2 separate regions of the Homo sapiens genome follow, and region 1 is linked to region 2. Evidence: promoter capture Hi-C in human tissues and cell types (Jung and others, 2019). All regions are on one chromosome and are shown on one strand. Each heading gives the region's core, a stretch centred on a gene start or on the middle of the fragment in contact. The rest is flanking DNA. Distances are from core to core; before and after follow the strand shown. Region 1 has its middle 9.4 kb from the start of TLR3. Region 2 holds the start of FAM149A (family with sequence similarity 149 member A).

Region 1 (4,075 bases), core at 484-2,983, 45 kb after region 2:
AACATGGTCCAATCAAAGGAAAATGTAAATCTCCAGATAATATCCCTAGAAAGCATGTATATTGGACCTACTAGACAAAGACTTTAAAATAGCTGTCTTGAATATGCTCAAAGACCTAAAGAAAAACACAAAGAACCAAAGAAAATGAGGACTACAATGAACGGACAAAATAAGAATGTCAGCAGAGACCACAGCAGTGGCCCATGCCTATAATCCCAGCACTTTGGGAGGCCGAGGTGGGCTGATCACTTGAGGTCAGGACTTTGATACCAGCCTGGCCAAAATGGTGAAACCCTGTCTCTACTAAAAATACAAAAATTAGCTGGGCATAGTGGCACGCACCTGTAATCCCAGCTACTTGGGAGGCTGAGGTGGGAGAATCACTTGAACCTGGGAGGCAGAGGTTGCAGCGAGCCGAGATCGCACCGCTACACTCCAGCCTGGGTGACAGAGCAAAACTCTGTCTCAAAAAAAAAAAAAAGTCAGCAGAGAAGTTGAAATTATATATATATATATATTTTTATATATATATATATATTATGCAGCTGAAAAATACAACTGAATTGAAAAATTTACTAGAGGGATTTCAACTGCAGATTTCAGAAAGCAGAAGAAAGAATCAGTAAATTTAAAGGCAAGACAATTAAAATTATTGAGTCTGAGGAGCAAAACAGGAAAGAAAAAAAAGAATAAACAAAAGGGAATAGAGTCTCATGGCCTTATGAAACACTGGCAAGCAGGCCACTATAGGCATTAGGGGAGTTTCAGAAAAAGAAGAGACACAGAACGGGGCAAGGAGGTGGTGTGAAGAAGTATGGTCCCAAATTTCACAGATGTGATGAAATACACGAGTCTAAAAATCCAAGAAGCCCAATGAACTTTAGGTAAGATGAACCTAAAGAGACTCACACTGAGACACATTATAATCAAAATAAAAGTCTAAGACACACATAATCTTGAAAGCGGCAAGAGAGAAGTTACTCACAACATACAAAAGATCCTCAGTAAAATTATTGGTGGATTTGTTAGTAAAAACCTTTGAGGCCAGAATGCAGTGAGGTGATATATTTAAAGTGCTGAAAGAAAAAAAAAAATCTGTCAATCATGAATTCTATATCTGGCAAAACTGTCTTTCAAAAATGAAGGAGAAATTAAGACATTCCCAGATAAGGAAAAGTGGAGGGAGTTCATTATCACTAGATCTGCCCTACAAGACATGCTAAAGACTAGGGATCCTTTAGATTAAAATAAAATCATTCTAGATGGTAATTCAAAGCCATATAAAGACATAAAGATCTTCAGTAAGCTTAGGCACATGGTTAAAAAAGAAACGTTTTATTATAATTTTGGTTTGTAACTTCACTTTTTTCTTTTCTGGAGAATTTAAAAGATAAATGCATAAAAATAATTATAAATCTATGTTAGTTGAGTACATGTTGTATAAAGACGTACTCTGGACATAAATAGCATAAAGTCACAGGAGGTGGAGATATTTATAAGTCCACTTGTGTGCAATTAAAGTTAAATTGGTATCAATTCAAATTAAATTGGTATGCCTTTAAAATGTTGCATGCAATTCCCACGATAACCACAAAGAAACTGCTGATAATATAGCTAACCAGATAATTCTAACCAGAATAATTCTAACCAGAAAGGAAAAAGAGGCATTAAAACGGATTCTATTTTTTAAAAATGTATTATAAGAGTACTGTGAAGAACCATATGCCAACAAATTGGATAATGTCAGTGAAATGGCCAAATCCTTAGAAACACACAACCTACCAAGACCGAAACATGAAGCCATAGAAAATCTGAATAGACCTATAACTAGTAAGGAGTTTGAATCAGTAACCAAAGCATTCCAACAACAAGATCTCTGAACTAGATGGCTTACTGATGAATTCTACCACACGTTTGAAAAATTAGCACCAACCTTTGTCAAACCTTTCCAAAAAATGGGAGACAAAGGAACACTTCTAACTTATTTGATGAGGCCAGCATCACCCTACTACCAAAGCCAAAGTCACCACAAGAAAAGAAAATTATAGGCCAGTATCCCTTATAAATACCGATATAAATATCTTTAACAAAATGCTAGCAACATATTTAACAGACTATACATCATGACCAAGTGGGATTTATTCCCGGAATGCCTTGATGGTTCAACAAACAAAGATTAATCGAGGTAATATTCCACATTGACAGAATGAGAAAGAAAGCCACATGATCGGCCCAGCACGGTGGCTCACGCCTGTAATCCCAGCATTTTGAGAGGCCAACTCGGGTGGATCACCTGAGGTCAGGTGTTTGAGACCAGCCTGGCCAACATGGTGAAACCCCGTTTCTACTAAAAATACAAAAATTAGCCTGGTGTGTTGGTGGGTGCCTGTAGTCCCAGCTACTTGGGAGGCTGAGGCAGGAGAATTGCTTGAACCCGGGAGGTGGAGGTTGCAGTGAGCTGAGATCGTGCCACTGCACTCCAGCCTGGGCAACAGAGCAAGACTCTGCCTCAAAAAAAATGCTACCAATAATAATAATAATAAATAAAAACAAAAACACATGATCATCTCATATGATGCAGAAAAAGCATTTGCTCCTGTTAAAAACCCTTTTATGATACAAATACTCAACTCTTTTATATGATTTAAAGATTGTTTTGATGACAGGGCAAAAAACAATGACTCCCAGATAGGTGAAAAGCAGAATTATTTGTTACTTACAGTTCCAAATAGAGAAGGCTGCCAGGCAGGGCCACGCAGGGGATTGAGCCTAGGCCGGGTTAACGGCAACCTGGAGATGTGGGAAGCAGTGTGCGTATGGCAAGCTGGGTGGAGCTGGCTAGATTCTGTGGGTTTCCTGTGGGTTGGCTATTTGAATACTTTCAGAGGGCTCTGGGGGATAGGGGCTGTCCCTTGTGCTATGGTAACTGGCCCTAAGGTGATTCGGGTGGCTGTGTAGTGGCCTGCAGCGTGAGAGCCCTGTAAGGGAAGTGGTTCAGTTGTGGACTTAATCACCTCCTCGATGAGGGGAGCTGACCAGCCTCTGACCAGCTTCTCACAACTGGGTCAGGACAGATTTTTAAAAAGCTGTATTACAGTTGACTCCTTGATGCCTTGATCTCAGTTTTAAGCCTAGTTTTTTTTTGGTGGGTGTGTTGGGGGAGGTACTTGAGTAGCCCAAATAATAGAGATTTCCAGAGAGTAGGGCATAAGTTGTCTTAGACAGCATAGAAAACAACTTATTATGAGAGTCAAAAAGAGAAAAACAGGGAAAAGTATATAGAGCCCCTGAAGGCTGGCTCATAACCAAGTTCCCTATTCATAATTGTCAAGAACGCAGACCTGAAATCCCCAGGGTCTCTAACAATATCTTGGTGGAGTTGTAACATATGTTCAAAGTATGAGTTATATTTTTATGACCGTAACACCTTGGTGTATTTCTTGGGTCAAGATGGCAGGTCTAGCAGTTATGTTGGGGGAAAATATGAATTAATCACTTAGTAAGAGACAAGTAAAGACTAATGGCATTTGTAACCAAAGGAAAGGAGTAGCTGTGGTGGTCACGGTCAAACACGCAGGGCAGGAGGTTGTGGTGGATGGTGGGAGGTGGATAGCTGGAGGTGGATGGCGGGAGGTGGATATCTGGGTGTGGATGGCTGGAGGTGGGTGGCTGGAGGTGGATGACTGAAGGTGAATGACTGAAGGTGGATGGCTGGAGGTGGATGGCGGGAGGTGGATAGCTGGAGGTGGGTGGTTGGGGGTGGATGACTGAAGGTGGATGACTGAAGGTGGATAGCGGGAGGTGGATGGCGGGAGGTGGGTGGTGGGAGGTGGGTGGCGGGAGGTGGGTGGCTGGAGGTGGATGGCGGGAGGTGGGTGGCTGGAGGTGGATGGCGGGAGGTGGGTGGCGGGAGGTGGGTGGCGGGAGGTGGATGGCTGGGGGTGGATGGCGGGAGGTGGATGGCGGGAGGTGGATGGCGGGAGGTGGATGGCTGGGGGTGGATGGCGGGAGGTGGATGGCTGGGGGTGGATGGCTGGGGGTGGATGGCGGGAGGTGGATGGCTGGGGGTGGATGG
Region 2 (4,235 bases), core at 1,736-4,235:
CCAGCAATGCCCAGGTGGGAAGATTGCTTGAGGCCAGGAGTTCAAGACCAGCCTGGGCAACATAGGGAGACCCCGTCTCCACAGAAACATTTTTAAAATTGGCCAGGCATAGTAGCTCACACCTGTAGTCCCAGCTACTCGAGAGTCTGAGACGGGAGAATCAGATCGCTTGAGCCTGGGAGGTTGAGGCTGCAATGAACAGTGATCATACCACTGCACTCCAACCTGGGTGACAGAAGGAGACCTCATCTCAAAAAGTAATAATAATTTAAAAATTCAATTTCTTCACTGTCCATAAAATTGAATGCATTTGTTAATTCAGAATAATCTCTTATGTAAATAATGCCAAATGCAGTGTTATTCAAAAAGTATCTATTCCAAATATTTGCACAATATAAACATGAGCTAATATGTTCAAGAATTGAAACTAACACCAGTTTCACTGGCCATGCTGCATATTTCAGTGCCTATTTGTTAAAAGCACTAAGACTAGAGTTTAAGGTCAGTGTGTAGATCTGTTTGCTCATAAAACATTAATTGCATAAATGTTAAGGACCAGTTGCCAATAACAAAGATCTAATTCCTCAGGCATATGTATTCCAGTGAGTTTTCCAAAAGCAATTAACTGATAGGGAAAACTATCAGTTGATAAACATATGTCATAATATAGTATTTTTTAATGAGTGGGAACAACTTTTTGCTTAACTGCTTATTTTCTTTTTTGTTGTTGTTTTTTTGAGACGGAGTCTCTCTCTCTGTCGCCCAGGTTGGAGCGCAATGGTGCGATCTTGGCTCACTGCAAGCTCCGCCTCCCGGGTTCACGCCATCATCCTCTTGCCTCAGCCTTCCGAGTAGCTGGGACTACAGGCACGTACCACCACGCCCGGCTAATTTTTTGTATTTTTAGTAGAGACGGGGTTTCATCGTGTTAGCCAGGATGGTCTCGATCTCCTGACCTCATGATCCGCCCGCCTCGGCCTCCCAAAGTGCTGGGATTACAGGCGTGAGCCACCGTGCCCGGCCGCTTGTTTTCATATTGACATGAATATCATTCAATTTTGTGAAACTGTAATTATTTAAATTGTGAGTGAGTCAGGATCAGTATGAATGCAAAAATTACTCAGGATTTTTTGGAGGGAGTAGGGAATGGCCTCACTAGATTACAATGCAGAAACCTCAGTCTGTGAATTGGCTCATCTGTCTTTGACCATTTCACTATTTCTTTGCAGCATTCAGGATGAAAATTTACCCACTCAAGAATAGCTAACGATATGCTCCACTCTAAAAATTAAAATTCATCCTAGTTCTAAAACACATTTTAAAAGAGCAATGTTTTTATCACGACTCTTGGAAGTGAAAGGGGTGTTGTGTGGGTGTGTGTGTGTTGAGGGAATCGGCCTCCGATTCCCAGTGAAAATGTTCCCATGAAGTCAACGTTTCTGCAGTGACTCAGGGCACTGTGGAAAGCTCTCAGGAGCTCTAGGGTAATAATCAGACGTGTCCTGGCCATTACAACTCCATTTGTGTCAGATGATGTCATGCATATGTAAATTAACTAGATGTCACACAAAGGAGACCCATCCCACTTAGGATAAGACTAGGGACTGGTCCTTAGACATTAGGAAAGCACCAGGTCTCACCACTTCTTAAAACACTTGCTGCAGACGTGTGTATTCGGTTTCCCTGCACACCTGCTATATTCTGAGACAAAGAAAGGGACTTCAAAAAGTCCTTAAGAAAACCAAACAAACACTCTAAGTAGCAATGCTTCTGGTAGAAGAGAAACAAAATTCTGTCCCTTCCTTCAAGGCCCCTTAGGATTCACTCTGAGAAAGCTGGACAAAGCATGTCACAGCTTATGTCTGAAAGCCCGCAAAGCCAAGGAGTAAAAACCCAGGAAACGTGCAAGGAGGGTGCCCAGGGGGTTATGAAAGTTACTACAAATATTTCATTTCCTGAAGTGCACCTGCGAAGGTGAGTGCGGCAGGCGGAGGGGTCGGGGGTCCCGGCAAAAGGTACACGCGCCCGGACCACGCTGCTACTCACGCTTCGCCATCCCCGGAGTCGCCGTCCGAGGCCCCCTCCTCGCCGATGTCAGGCAGCGTAAGGAACAGGGTTCTGGGGCCAGCCCCGGGGGCCACGCAGGCGCCGAGCTCTCGCTCTCCGGGGCCAGGCTGGAGCGGGTTCCTGGGGAGCGCGGCCCAGACCCCGCCGGGGCCCGAGGGCGGCCGCGCTGGGACCACCAGGCGAGCAGGGGAGCAGCCCCCGCCGGAGGGAGTGGGGGGCTGGGGCGGGGCTTTACCCGCTCTAGGGCTACTGGGCCAAGAGAGCAGGGTCCCCACTGCTCCCGCGGCGCGGCTGGCGGCGGAGCCCCGGGAGTAGGGGGAGGAGAGCAGCGGGGCGGGCGACCGCCGCGAGGCGGAGGGGGAGTCCGGAGCCAGGGCGCGGAGGAGGGTCGGGGCGGTACCCAACGGGGTGCCCGCCCTGGAGCCCCCCGACCCTGCAGCGGCAGCACCTCCCGAGGGTCTGGAGGAGGGGCCTGCGGGGGGCGCCGTCGAGGTCTCGAAGAGTTTGGCCAAGAGAGACCCAAGGTCCAGCACAGCAGCCTTCATGCCTCGACAGTGGACACGCCGTCCTCGCCGCCGCCCGAGAGTTCAGACCGCGGAGATCCGGCCGAGGCGGCCCGGGCCGGGGCGAGGAGCCTGAGGTCCCCGCACCCGGAGCCCCGGAGGCCCCTGGCTCCCTCTCCTCCCCGAGGACGCTCAGCTCCGCGCCGCTGGGGTCGCCCTTCCCCGGCCCGGGTCCGTCCGCCGAGCGCCCCGGCTGCGGAGAGCAGCCCCGCCTCGTCCCAGCGCCGTGAGACCCCCGAGGGCCGAAGGGCCAGGAGCCCCGGGAAGCGCGGCCGCCGCCCGCCCCAGACGCCCGCCGCCCGCCGCCCGCCGCCCGCGGTTGCTACGTTCAACACACCCGGCCGCGCTCCAGGCTAATTGGGCCCCAGGTGCGGCTCGGGCTGTGCCCGCGGGGGACGTCCCACTCCCCGCCTGGTTCCGCCTTAAAGGAACACGCCCCCATTTCCCCTGCGCCCCGAGCCTCGCAGATCCCATCCGCCGAGCTCAGGGCCCAGGGCTGGGAAAGAGAATCCTGGCTCCAGAAGGTTCTGGAACTTACCCAGCCTGACAAGCTTGCACGTGCTGGGGTCAGGCCACCTCTCTGACGATAGGGAAGGTGGGTAGAAAGATGTATTTGGGCGAACGAGCTTGAAACAGCAGCATCCACTCCCCCACCCCAGGGTCCTACTCAAACCCTGTTACTAAGGGTGGGGTGGGAGCAACCGCGAGGTGCGCCACCCACTAACCTGCAAACAAGACCGGCTCTGAGAGCTGAAGTAGAAAGACCTACGCACACCTGTTTAAACACCTGTCGGAGTGAACCAAGAGACTGTGTAATTCAAATGTTTGAGAACTCAAATTATAATCGGAACGACTACAAATTCAAAGACAGATATGGAAGGCAACGTTTTCTATTCAGTGGAATAAATTGTATTTTGCTTAATCTGAAAAATATGTGTGAAAGGTAGAGCGTATAGGTGCGAGCATCTAAAGGGGTGTGGGGTCAGTGTTGAACAGAGTTAAAAAATAAGATACTGCAGCCAGGCTCGGTGGCTCATACCTGTAATCCCAGCACCGGGATTGGGAGGTGGGAGGATGGCTTGAGCCCAGGAGTTCCAGGCCAGCCTGGGCAACAACATAGGGAGACCCCATCTCTACAAATATTTAAAAAAAAAAAAAATGCCGGGCCTGGTGGCGCATGCCTGTAGTCCCAGGTACTCGGGAGGCTGAGGTGATCGCTTGGGCCTGGAGTGAGCCGTGATCGCACCACTGCATTCCAGCCTGGGCAGTAGAGTGAGACCCTGTGTCAAAAAAATAGTAATGAGATATTGATGGAGTTTGTCCATTAATATTCAGGAGAGGATCTCAGGAGATACATTTCCTGATGTGGGGTAGGGAAAAGAGATGAATTAAGTCTGGCAGTGAATAAACTGACATTCATGCTTATATACTTGAATCTTTTGTAAGTTATCAAACTGGAGTCTGAGCCACGGTAAACTTCCAGGTAATGCTAAGTTTTGCGTTATTTGGAGGCAGTTAACAAGTCTTCTGTCATGATCCCTTTTCTACATCTAACTGCCACCAACATGTACTGGGCACTTGTCTGCTTCAAGATTGCATTAAGCA

The links. The method cuts DNA at HindIII sites, captures the fragments that hold promoters and counts their contacts. A contact is called where the count stands out against the background at its distance.
Region 1: a contact is called between a fragment that was not itself captured here and the fragment with the promoter of FAM149A in region 2, in 1 of the 25 tissues and cell types used here (mesendoderm cells).

What each region holds. Positions count from the first base shown.
Region 1 is chr4:186,057,708-186,061,782 of GRCh38, reverse strand. No RefSeq gene overlaps it. Among named protein-coding and RNA genes, the nearest start is that of TLR3, 9.4 kb to the left of the region's middle. The HindIII fragment of the contact is 3,511 bases long and covers 1-3,488 here.
Region 2 is chr4:186,103,454-186,107,688 of GRCh38, reverse strand. It overlaps FAM149A (family with sequence similarity 149 member A), which reads right to left and starts at 2,985. Exons shown (of 14, transcript NM_001395294.1): 1 at 2,047-2,985. The coding sequence starts at 2,612. RefSeq lists a silencer at 3,006-3,065. The HindIII fragment of the contact is 14,554 bases long and covers 1-4,235 here.